2 separate regions of the Homo sapiens genome follow, and region 1 is linked to region 2. Evidence: promoter capture Hi-C in 16 types of primary human blood cells and fetal thymus (Javierre and others, 2016). All regions are on one chromosome and are shown on one strand. The core of a region is centred on a gene start or on the middle of the fragment in contact, and the rest is flanking DNA. Distances in the headings are between cores, read along the strand shown.

Region 1 (6,494 bases), core at 932-3,431, 3.4 Mb before region 2:
AGTGTTATTTTATAATAAAATTTAAAAAGTTTTAAAGAATTAAATCGTAGGACAAATTAATTAAAATATTGTGTAAAATTACCTTCAGGCTATGTGTATAAGGTATATATGAAACGTAAATGAACTTCATGTTTAAATTTGGGTCTCATCTCCAAGATATCTTATTATGTATATGCAAGTATCCCCAAATCTGAAAATTTGGGTATTCCTGAAACTGATACTAACGGTAAGAGCTCTACCATTAATTATTCACTTTATACAGTTAGAAAGAGGAGGGACAGGATAAAAAGTTAGTCTGGAAAGGCCAGCCAATCCATTTGCTATTTTCTCTGATTTTTTTTTTTTTCTTTTTGAGACGGAGTCTTGCTCTTTTACCCGGGCTGGAGTGCAGCGGGTCACTGCAACCCCTGCCTCCCAGGTTCAAGTGATTCTCCTGCCTCAGCCTCCCAAGTAGCTGGGACTACAGGTGCACACCACCATGCCCAGCTACTTTTTGTATTTTTTTTTTCAGTAGAGACGGGGTTTACAGAGACCATGTTGGCCAGGATGGTCTTGATCTTTTGACCTCATGATCTGCCCACCTCGGCCTCCCAAAGTGCTGGGATTACAGGTGTGATCTTTAGGTTTACAGTAAAGGCTCTCAGAGGTCCTGGAGGCCGAGTGTGGTGGCTGACGCCTATAATCCCAGCACTTTGGGAGGCCAAGATGGGCAGATCACGAGATCAGGAGATCAAGACCATCCTGGCTAACATGGTGAAACCCTGTCTCTACTAAAAATATAAAAAATTAGCTGGGCATGGTGGCGGGTGCCTGTAGTCCCAGCTACTTGGGAGGCTGAGGCAGGAGAATCACTTGAACCCGGGAGGCAGAGGTTGTAGTGAGCCAAGATCGAGCCATTGCACTCCAGCCTGGGTGACAGTGGGAGACTCCATCTCAAAAAAAAAAAAAAAAAAAAGATGTCTTGGAATACAGTAAACACTCAACATTTCCCAACTGATTTGCTCATGGACTTTTTTTTTTTTTTTTGAGACATAGTCTCACTCTTGTCACTCAGGCTGGAGTGCAATGGCACAATCTCGTCTCACTGCAACCTCCGCCTCCCGGGCTCAAGTGATTCTCCTGCCTCAGCCTCCCGAGTAGCTGGGATTACAGGCATCTGCCACCATGCCTAGCTATTGTTTTTTTGTGTTTTTAGTAGAGACAGGGTTTCACCATGTTGGCCAGGCTGGTCGTGAGCTCCTGACCTCAGGTGATCCGTCCACCTTGGCCGCCCAAAGTGCTGGGATTACAGGCGTGAGCCACCACACCCGGCCTGCTCATGGACATTTTTTAAGGCATATCTTTTTTTTTTTTAATTTTAGATTCAGCAGGTACATGTGCAGGTTTGTTACAAGTGTATAATGCATGGTGCTGAGGTTTGGGCTTCTACTGATCCTGTCACCCAGACAGTGAACATAGTGCCCAAAAGGAAGCTTTTCAGCCCTTGCCCCTGCCCCTTCCTCCTTTTTTGGAGTCCCCAGTGTCCACTGTTCCCATCTTTTTGTCCATGTGAATCCAAGATTTAGCTCCCATTTATTGTAACTGAATGCAGGCTGGGCTGCACGCCACTTGCAAAGTCAACAACAAGGAGGAGATGCAGGAAAAGGAAAGTGACTTTATTCCAGAGCTAGCAGTGGGGAAATGGCCAAAGCTAGTACCTTAAAGAAATCATTTTGAACTTTAGGCTGGGGAGAGGTGCTTAAAAAGGGAACTTAGAATGGGAGGCATGCGGGAGTGGTGCAGGGTTTCAGATCTCTGTGGCTTGCTGTAGTGGCTATCTTGAGTTGTGGTCCACCTGGAGTGGGGGCTGGCATCATCTCAACAATGGCTGGGTTGTTGACTAACCACCTTAAGGTAATCTCTGGAATTTTGCAGCTGGGTCTCCAAGCCTGGTATATGTCATGATTAGCCCTTGATGGGCCAGGCACAGTGGCTCACACCTATAATCGCAGCACTTTGGGGAGGCCAAGGTGGGAGGATCACCTGAGCCCAGGAGTTTTAGATCGGCCTGGGCAACGTAGTGAGACCTTGAATCTACTAAAAATTGAAAAAAAAAAAAAAAAAAAAAAAAAGCCGGATGTGGTAGCCCCAGCTACTTAAAAGGCTGAGGTGGGAGGATTGCTTGAGCTAGGGAAGTAGAGACTGCAGTGATCCATGGTCGTGCCACTGGACTCCAGCCTGGGCAAGAGAGTTAAGACCCTATAGATAAGAGTGTATAGTGTAAGTTTAACAAGTGTACAGTTAGATAAATGTGCATAGTATAAGGGAGTGTGAGGCGGGAAAGGGAGGGAAACGGTTTTAACAAGACTACATTCTGAAATTAAGAAAGAAAGGGCCAGGCACGGTGGCTCACGCCTGTAATCCCAGCACTTTGGGAGGCTGAGGCAGGCGGATCATGAGGTCAAGAGATCGAGACCATCCTGGCCAACATGGTGAAACCCCGTCTCTACTAAAAATACAAAAATTAGCTGGCCGTGGTGGCACGCGCCTGTAGTCCCAGCTACTTGAGAGGCTGAGGCAGGAGAATTGCTTGAACCTGGGAGGCAGAGGTCGCAGTGAGCCGAGATTGCACCACTGCACTCCAGCGTGGAAACAGAGACTTCTGTCTCAAAAAAAAAAGGAAAAAAAAAACTTTAAAATGCATTTCAAGGCTAGGATACTTGGTTATATTACAAGTGAGAACATAAGGCATATCTCTGAAAATATTGAAGAGTGGAGCTTTACAGAATATCCATTTGAAAAATGCAATGAACTAGTTAAAGGCACCAGTTTGTGGAGTTCTGGTCTGTGTTTGAATCACAGCTGTGTCCCTTACAGTGTAACTTTAAGCAAGTTAACATCTTCAAGCTTTAGTATTCTCATCCATAAATAATACCTCAGAAGACAATTGTGAGGGTTAAATGTGTGTAAAGCTTCTGGCATGTAGTAAGTAAGTAGAAGCTGCTGTCCTAACATTCATGTCCACCACAGGGCTCTCACCTCATCAAGCCATTCATTGGGTTCTACCACTGATTTCATCAAGACCATATTCTGCCCACTGCCTAGATCACAGTGGTTGGATTTGGGTGTTCCTAAAACTTATACCAGCCGAGCGTAGTGGCTCATGCCTGTAATTCCAGCCCTTTGGGAGGCCAAGGCGGGCAGATCACCTGAGGTTGGGAGTTCGAGACCAGCCTGACCAACATACAGAAAACCTGTCTCTATTAAAAATACAAAATTAGCTGGGCGTGGTGGCACATGCCTATAATCCCAGCTACTCGGGAGGCTGAGGCAGGAGAATTGTTTGAACCCCGGGAGGCGGCGGTTGCGGTGAGCTGAGATCGTGCCGTTGGACTCCAGCCTGGGTGACAAGAGCAAAACTCCGTCTCAAAATGTTTGTCTTGGCATCAGTTCTTGGTTTGTCTCATTTCTTCCAATGGCTGGTCTAATTAATGTTTTGATTCTTTCTTGACTAGTTTGGAGTTAGCTTACAGCTATCCTCTTGTCACCATTTATATCTTCCACTAAACTGAGGTGCTTTTTACTAGCAGCGAATCTGTATCCGTACAGGTCTGCAGCAACCTCAATTCTTGCCTCCTCAGAAGAAAGAATTCGACTGAGGGGCAGAAGGAGAGGGTGAGGCACGTTTTAGAGCAAGAGTGAAAGTTTATTAAAAAGCTTTAGAGGAGGAATGAAAGAAAGGGAAGTACGCTTGGAAGAGGACCAAGCGGGCGACTTGAAAGATAAATGTGTGGCTTGAGCTTTTGACTTGGCGTTTTATACACTGGCATACTTCCAAGGTCTTGCATTACTTCTCCCCACTTGCCCAACTCCTGAGATCTTATTGGGAAGCTGCTGCTCACCAGTTTCAGGTGTTTTCTATTAGGAGACTGCCGTTCCCTGGTGCCAGCTGTGACCAATTACTACTTCAGCAAGAGAGTTAATAACCGCCTGACCATCTCACCTGATGGTTGCCCGACACTCCTAGTGTGTGTTTGGGGGAGCCATCTCCTGCTTTGTTCATACCTGACTAGCTACCCACCGTAACAGTGCCAGTTATACTAGTGACTTTTTTTTTTTTTTGAGACAGAGTCTCACTCTGTCGCCTGGGCTGGAATGCAGTGGCGCAATCTCGGCTGACTGCAACCTCTGCCTCCAGGGTTCAAGCAATTCTTTTTTTTTTTTTTTTTTTTTGAGATAGAGTCTCACTCTATTGCCCAGGCTGGTACGCAATGTCGCGATCTTGACTCACTGCAACCTCCATCTCCCGGGTTCAAGCAATTCTGCCTCAGCCTCCCAAGTAGCTGGGATTACAGGTGAGCACCACCACGCCTTGCTAGTTTTTGTATTTTTAGTAGAGACAGTTTCAGCATGTTGGCCAGGGTGGTCTCAAACTCCTGACCTCATGATCCACCCACCTTGGCCTCCCAAAGTGTTGGGATTACAGGCGTAAGCCACCGCACCCGGCATACTAATGACTTTACATTTTGTTTCACTTTTAAAATTTTAATCATTTAAGTTTCTAGACTTAGTATTAAGGCCTTTCTTTGGCCAGACCTTGTTTTGCCACTTTTTTTTTTTTTTTTTTTGAGACGGAGTATTGCTCTGTTGCCCAGGCTGGAGTGCAATGGTGGATCTCGGCTCACTGCAACCTCTACCTCCTAGGTTCAAGCAATTCTCCTGCCTCAGCCTCCCGAGTAGCTGGGATTACAGGTGCCTGTCACCACGCCCGGCTAATTTTTTGTATTTTTAATAGAGACGGGGTTTCACCATCTTGGCCAGGCTGGTCTTGAACTCCTGATCTCGTGATCCACCCGCCTTGGCCTTCCATAGTGCTGGGATTACAGGCGTGAGCCACTGCGTCTGACCTCCTCCAAGTTTTATTCTAAACTCTGCCACTTTTAATTAGTGGTGCAAATATGTTTTTTTTGATTTTAGGAGTGTTAGTCCAAACTGCACCATTTTGTAAATCCTGCCCCCCCACCGCCCTGCCCCGTTTCCCCAGCCCTGCCTGGTCTCCCCCACCCTCTATTTTGCAGACCTTGGTCAAAGTGAAACATTCCACAGGGGTTCGGGCTGTGAGAAACATCCTGCCTAACCACCTGACCACAAAACGGACAAAGGCGCAACTAAAGAAACACCCCTATCATATTCTGCCGGGAGAAAGTGCAAAGAACACCACATTCCCGGGGGGTCGTGGTGGCTCACGCCTGTAATCCCATCACTTTGGGAGGCCGAGGCGGGTGGATCATCTGAGGTCAGGAGTTTCTACTAAAAATACAAAAAGTAGCGAGGGGTGGTGGCGCACGCCTGCAGTCCCAGCTACTGGGGAAGCTGAGACAGGAGAATCGCTTGAATTCAGGAGGCGGAGGTTGCAGTGAGTGGAGATCGCGCCACTGCACTCCAGCCTGGGCGACAGAGCAAGACTCCGTCTCAAAAACAAAACAAAACAAAAAAAACTACCACCACATTCTGCGGGAACAAGGGCCAGAACCGCCTCATTATGGGAACATCTTAACATCCTGCAGGGCAGCAAGTCAGCAAGCCATATGGCCCAGGCCCCTCCCGCCCTTACCTAAAAGTACCCCACTGGTGGGCACTGGCATTAGGCTGGTTCCCCACTTCTGTAGGTCTTAGGCTGGACATAAAGCCCGCAGTTGCTGTAGAGCTGCCACTCTGTATCTTTAACGCTGGCCTTCCCTTCAAAACTTATCAAGGAGCTTATTTTTAGAATGTGTGCTCAGTTACGGCCATAAAAGTATCATAGACAGGGAGGTATGCTGGCTGCCCACGTTGGGCCTGATGCAGGCACCATGAGGATCAAGGTGCAGAACATTGATTTCTGTTGGCTCACACTGATCCCATTAGTAATTTGAAGCCATCTGACGCTAGTGGTATATTTTATTTATTTATTTATTTTTTAGAGACGGGTCCCGCTATGCTGCCCAGGCTGGTCTCGAAATCCTGGGCTCAGCGATCTGCTCGCCTCGGCCTCCCAAAGTGCTAGGGTTACAGGCGTGACCCACCGCGCCGTGAAGTATTAGTTTTAAAGCAATTGTTTTAGTGGTCGCTAACAGGGTACATGCTACTGTGTATACTGATTCCCTCACTTTTCCTTGTTCACAAGTTGTTCCTTGTTCTAGAGTTCAAAAACTATCAGTGAGTGGGGACAACACGCCGACGGCTTCCTTTCATCCGCCACAGCGGGCTCTGGTTCCCTCCCTGGCGCCTGCGCCCACGATGGTCGCGCGCGCGACACGCCCGCCCTTTCCGCCTGCTCGCCCCGTGCATGACCCGCCCCGCGGCGGAGACGCGCTCGCTGCGTCATCAGTGTTTTCGAGACGAGTCTCGACGCAGCAGCTGTCAGCTCCATTTTGTTGTTGGTGCGCGACGCAGTCAGCTGCGTGATTCCCGTGATTGCGTTACAAGCTTTGTCTCCTTCGACTTGGAGTCTTTGTCCAGGACGGTAAGACGCA
Region 2 (6,217 bases), core at 1-2,500:
TAAACGCTTGTCCTGCCTGTAGGAAGAGAAATGTTTTGAAACAAAAACTAAATGTAATCACATTATCAACAGGCAACGCCACCGTGCTATACATCTCAACACGTTTTGGCTTTGAAAGTTAACACCAAACCTCAGCTTATTCGTTAAGGAAGCGCATTTGAATGTACTAACCAATATTCCAAGTTTAATTCCCGATTCCTTACGTCTGTTAGGGGTCGTTGTCGCTCCTCCGGTGAGCAACCAGACCAGCTTTAAGGTCAACCTTAGTTTATTCCAAGGTCAAATGTTTTCCTTCTTCAGGTTTTTCCAGAAATTTTCAGGAAACGCTGGGTCAAGCTCCCTGCCTGGCACCATGATTTTTACCCAAGATATTACACATCCACAAAGGCCCTGCAGAAGCAGGTGAGACGCTGCGCGTGCGCCCGGGTTCTCGCCCCCCTGCCTTACACACCGGCAGCACACGCGCGTGCAAAGAGCCCTGGGGGAGAAAAGGGTCGGGCGGGCCTTGCCGCTCCAAGGTGCCATCGGGCGCTGGTCACTGAGTGGCCACCAATCCCTCCCGCCCAGCCCAACAAAAGAGGGGCGTCAGGGATCCCCGTACGCCTCAGACAGGCCCGGGCCTGCAGGCCTCGGGGCCACGCGGGACTCACCATTACTCCCTCCGCCTCAGACTCGTACTCTGCTCTAGTGTAGCGCCGCAAAGAGACTCGCAGTCCGGCCCTGGCGACACGTGAAAAAATCACCCAGCGCGCAGGCGCGCTCGCCCCAGCGGTCGCCGCTAGCCCCCTCGCCCCTCCCAGGGAGGGAGGGCGGTCGCCCCGACGCGCACCGCGATTCGCCCCAAGGGCCCTGCGCAGGACGCTGACGCGAAGACTCGGAGGCGGAAGAAAAAAGGAGCTGTTTCTAGGCTTTTCTAGGCGCCCAGCCGAGGTGAAAGAACTACCCCTTCGTCCCCTCCCGGAAATGACGCGATTTGACCCTTGAGCCGTAGGGAGCGCGGCATTTTCTGGAAAGTTCTGGAACCGAGCGAGGCCCGGGAACTAGACTAAGCCGGCCGGAGAGGGCTGAGCGCGCTAGCACACCCTGCGCGGGTAGGGAGGGGCGGGGCTCGCGCGCAGGGTGTGCAGATTGCAGGGCCCGGGCTGACGGGAAGTGGGTGGGAGCTGCCTGCACACGCGGTGCCGCGGGGCGGGAGTAGAGGCGGAGGGAGGGGACACGGGCTCATTGCGGTGTGCGCCCTGCACTCTGTCCCTCACTCGCCGCCGACGACCTGTCTCGCCGAGCGCACGCCTTGCCGCCGCCCCGCAGGTACGCGGCCTTCCCGCACCACCTCCCCCCGGCTCCTGCGACCCCCGAGTGGGCCTTCCTCCTCTGCGGTCCAGCTGGAGGGTGCGGGCGGCGACAACCTGGAGTTCCGCACCGCGCCGCACCGCAGGCCCAGGCCTGCGGGTCCAGGCCTCGCGGGTCCATGCGGGTTCCATCACGTGCGACGCGGATCCTGGACCTCGGCTGGGCGCGGGAGGGACAACTCGTGGGGTTTGAATTTGGGGGATTGTAACCACTTAGGCCCGCTGGTGCAACCTGCGCCTGGCCGACTTCAGGGAACCGGGGAGGGTGGTGTACGTGAGGGAACCGCTTTTTTCCCCCGCAGGCAGCTGGGATACCGCGCCTCCAGTCTTGACCTTGCTGGGGGCGTTCGGAAAGAAGGACACGTGGGCTCGCGCCGAGTGGGCCGGGCCGCCGCCCCCAGCATCGCGGCCTTGCTGGTTGCTCTGATACAGTAGCCTTGGGTGGATCCATGGAGACACTTTGCTGAGCGGCTTTTTGCACCGTCAGGAATACTTTTAACTTCCCTGGTCACTTGGATTTGTAACTTGCCTCTCTCCGGCTGACTTGGTTTCTCAGGGGCCACAGTTGGAGTGGGTCTGCCCACAAGGCCGTTTTCGCGGTGAAAGATTAACTCGTTTTTGGCGGCAGGGATAGGTGGCCGTGGGGAAGGAGCCGCATGTGCTTTGTGCTGGTGCTATAGGTCAGGCGCCGGCCGGGGCGGCCTCTTTAGCTTGCGCTAGTGGCTGATGTTCCGAAGCTGCGGCGCCTTCCGTCATTCAGGCGTAGTGGCTGGCGGAGGTCAGCCAGGCTCAGCATCTCACGTTGCTTGCTCTGTTGCACAGGTGGGCATGTTTGTTCTGCAGCGCACCACGGGTGGTAGTTCTGATGATCTTTTTGCTTCCATCCCCAGAAATGCTTCGGTTACCCACAGTCTTTCGCCAGATGAGACCGGTGTCCAGGGTACTGGCTCCTCATCTCACTCGGGCTTATGCCAAAGATGTAAAATTTGGTGCAGATGCCCGAGCCTTAATGCTTCAAGGTGTAGACCTTTTAGCCGATGCTGTGGCCGTTACAATGGGGCCAAAGGTACCAGTATTTTTATTTTATTGTAATTACGGTATTATTAATAGCATTTTACTCACAAATAGTCGCACTGAACTATTCAACAGTACTTTCATCTCCATTTTTGAGAGAACTCAGTTTACATGTAAGAATTCTGAAGTATTGGTTAGCCTTTTTTTCTTAGACATGATCTTAAAGCTTAAACTGCTTCAGCCAGATTTTCGAAACTATTTTGTTCAATGTGTGATGTAATCAGGTAGTAACTTACAGCTCAAGGTGGATTCTTAAACTCGAGGTAGAATTTCGCTGGCTTAAGTTAAAATTTGGATCCTTTCCCAGTAGTTCATGCCAAGTGTAGAGAGAAGAGTTTAACTTATCTTCCATAATTCCTTAGGTATGTGCTTGTAGATGCTAAATTTTTTTTTGGTTTATTGTAGTAAAATGTACACAACATAAAATTACCATTAAGTGTGCACTTTGGGGACATCAATTACATTTATGTTGTGCAGTCATCACCACCATCCATCTCCAAAACTTTTTATATGGAAAAATTGTAACTTTGTACTCATTAGACAGTAGCTTCCCATTCTCTCCTCCACCCCAAGATGCTAGTTTTACCCATCGGTTTTCTGCTGTTCTCTTGTTCCAAAGCATATTTAAAATAAGTCTCATTTAATAGGGGTAATGTTTTGAGGAGGCCTTTGAAGGTGGTGTGCAGTCAAGTGGTGCTTCATTTCAGTTTGAAGACAGTTCAGATATCAAGTGATCCAACAACTGCCTAAAATACAACATTTGCACACCTCACAAATAGAAAGTAGCAGCTTTAGTTCAAATCCAAAGGATGGCCAATAATTGTGCCATGGTTGAAGTTTTATGTTGCGTGAACCTGGAAGAGCACGCTACTTGCCTTGATGGTTAATATTTTAGTTAAACGGATTTTAAAACAAGTCACATTACTTTAAAAGATAACAGGCACTAACTAAAGTATAAGTGATAGGAAGATTGTTTTATTCTTTGTCTTGTGTTCTTGTTCATTTTATAAGATGACAAGTTTTAGTCCCTAGGATTTTAATCTCCTAAATTACCTAGTTCAAAATTATGCTCTTGGCAGAGAATCAGGTCATTTTGTCTGTAGACAAAGAATGTCGATAAACTTGCCCTTGAGGTTCATGCTGCAAGACTGATAAAAATGACACAACTTACGTTGAGACTTTGAAGTAGTTGCTTTATTATGAAGACTGCTCATTTTTAAAAATGTAAATCATCCTTAGGGTATGTCTGATCCTGTTACATTTTTTTCTTCTAGGGAAGAACAGTGATTATTGAGCAGAGTTGGGGAAGTCCCAAAGTAACAAAAGATGGTGTGACTGTTGCAAAGTCAATTGACTTAAAAGATAAATACAAAAACATTGGAGCTAAACTTGTTCAAGATGTTGCCAATAACACAAATGAAGAAGCTGGGGATGGCACTACCACTGCTACTGTACTGGCACGCTCTATAGCCAAGGAAGGCTTCGAGAAGATTAGCAAAGGTGCTAATCCAGTGGAAATCAGGAGAGGTAGGAATGTCTGTTGTCACCACAGTGTTCTAAACTTCAGTGTGCTTTAAGGCATTGATTCCTTGGACCTAAGGAAAGTGTTAACTTGAGGAAATTAATCCTTCTCTCATTCCTCCTCTTGGCCTGGAGAAATCTTAAACTGGGTTTTCCTTTAGCAAGCTTGGCTGTATGGTGGGTAGGTACTGTTAGGTAATTTTGATATTTTACTTAGTTGGTTTCTTTTGTTTTTAGAGACAGGGTCTTGCTCTGTAGCCCAGGCTGGACTGCACTGGAACTCCTGGGCTCAAGCAATCCTCCTGCCTCAGCCTCCAAGTAGCTGGGACTACTACAGGCACTCACCACCATTCCTGGCTAATTTTTAGTTTAGTTTTGTAGAAAGTAAGACTAAATACACTGGATCATTCAGAATGTCAGAAAGTAATGTTTTCCTCAGTTTATTTTTTCTTAATAGCACACACCATGTTATTGGTTTGTGTTTTGTTAGTGCTTGTAACTAGAGTGCAACTTAATTAACAATTTGCTCCTCCTCATGAGGTTCATGGCAGTATAGACTTAAATTCTAGTCCCATGTTTGTCATTTATTAGCTGTGTGCTAAGACTTGGTTTTCCTATCAGCAGAATTGCTATGTATATCTAGGGTATGTTAGGGTTCAAACCAGGAACCCTCTTGTAAGTGAAGGTGGGGGGAGCTATTGGTAATTTTTTGTCAGAATTGGCATACTAATTTATTACTACATTACTAATGTATCATTACCTCATCTATTTCAGTGTTTATGGGCCAAGTGAATATACTTCACTAAAAGCAGTTTTACTGTAAATCACTAACAAGTATTAATTAAGGTTATGAAGAGGACTTACCAGCACCTTGCATTGGATTTTTTTTGAAGTAACAGTTCTCAAACAAGAGAGCTAGCACTATTCCCAATTGAGCAAAATGGGACTATTAAGACTGATGTAAAACAAAAATATTTTGTTAGTTCATAATACGTACTAAATTGAGGGGATTTCAGATAATTGACACCTGCAGAGGCATAGTCACAACAGATTCCTATCATTTAAGAACTGTACTTCTTGTTGAAAATAAGGGAGTGTTAGCCATTTTGGTCCTTTTTTGCATCATCTAATGGACATGAGAAGTGTCGTGGACCCTATTGGAAACAGCATGATTGGGTTAGGAATTTGCATAGGATGAGTTCAGTGGTGAGACTTTTGAAACTACACACATCTACCTTGTTTTAGTCCTATTTTCAAAATTTTGGCATTGTGAGATTTTATTTACTGTGTGAACCTAAAGTTACTGTTTAAGTACATGCCACGCAACTCTGTGTTATTAAGAAGCACTGTCTCAGAAGCTGTGTGTAAATTTAATATTAAGGCACTAAAGACCAAGCATAGGTACATGCCTGTAGTCCCAGCTACATGGGAAGCTGAGGTGGGAGGATTGCTTGAGCCCAGGAGTTCAAGACCACCTTGGGCAACATAGTGAGACCTTGTCTACAAAAATAAAAGAAGCTGAGCATGGTGGCTTGAGCCTGTGGTCTCAGCTACTCCCTTGAGCCCAGGATGTCAGGGCTGCAGTGAGCCATGATCTGTGCTACTGCACTCTAGCCTGGGCAGCAGAACAAGACCCTGTCTCAAAAAAAAAAAAAATTTTTTTTTTTAAGTTAAGGCATTAAAATATTTGTCACAAATCTCAAGATTTCTACTTGACATAGAAGCCATGAGAGAAATAAACATTGTAATGACATATATCGTTGAACTAGGTGTGATGTTAGCTGTTGATGCTGTAATTGCTGAACTTAAAAAGCAGTCTAAACCTGTGACCACCCCTGAAGAAATTGCACAGGTAAGGACTTAACATGTTACACGTTTTTTAAAAAAAATTTAATGGCATGTGTGATTTTTTTTTTCCCTTGATCACACCAATGTCAGAATAACAATACTACCCAATCATCAATATTAGAATCATTGTTTCTTACTGCTAAAACCTTTGAAAAGAATTATGACCATAATGGTTGTCATTTAGTTCTACATGTGGTTGTCATTTTAGTTCTACATGGCTGTAAAATGGATTCATATGATTGTGAAAATGTTCTTAGCCATTGTCAAAGGTGCATAAGTTTTGTCAGTTTGTAATGAAGTCAGCATTTTTAAACTTTTTGTTACAAGAATAGTTTTATGTATCATATTCTTCAAAACAATGTAGTCAAATAATGAATCGGAAAAGAGCAAAGAACCAGTACTTCATGAAAACTACCATAACGTAA

The links. Contacts are between HindIII fragments. The CHiCAGO score rates a contact against its expected background, and 5 or more counts as called.
Region 1: a contact is called between a fragment that was not itself captured here and the fragment with the promoter of HSPD1 in region 2, in 1 of 17 cell types (erythroblasts). The highest score is 5.4, in erythroblasts.

Annotation. Positions count from the first base shown.
Region 1 is chr2:200,864,554-200,871,047 of GRCh38, reverse strand. CLK1 (CDC like kinase 1) reads left to right here and starts at 6,390. Exons shown (of 13, transcript NM_004071.4): 1 at 6,390-6,484. It overlaps PPIL3 (peptidylprolyl isomerase like 3), which reads left to right. Exons shown (of 7, transcript NM_130906.3): 7 at 1-141. The HindIII fragment of the contact is 1,414 bases long and covers 1,475-2,888 here.
Region 2 is chr2:197,494,873-197,501,089 of GRCh38, reverse strand. HSPD1 (heat shock protein family D (Hsp60) member 1) reads left to right here and starts at 1,250. Exons shown (of 12, transcript NM_002156.5): 1 at 1,250-1,308; 2 at 2,240-2,415; 3 at 3,698-3,950; 4 at 5,714-5,796. The coding sequence starts at 2,242. HSPE1-MOB4 (HSPE1-MOB4 readthrough) reads right to left here and starts at 711. Exons shown (of 9, transcript NM_001202485.2): 1 at 651-711; 2 at 1-16. The coding sequence starts at 653. HSPE1 (heat shock protein family E (Hsp10) member 1) reads right to left here and starts at 711. Exons shown (of 4, transcript NM_002157.3): 1 at 651-711; 2 at 1-16. The coding sequence starts at 653. RefSeq lists an enhancer at 591-650 and silencers at 791-850, 1,041-1,370. The HindIII fragment of the contact is 3,758 bases long and covers 1-2,591 here.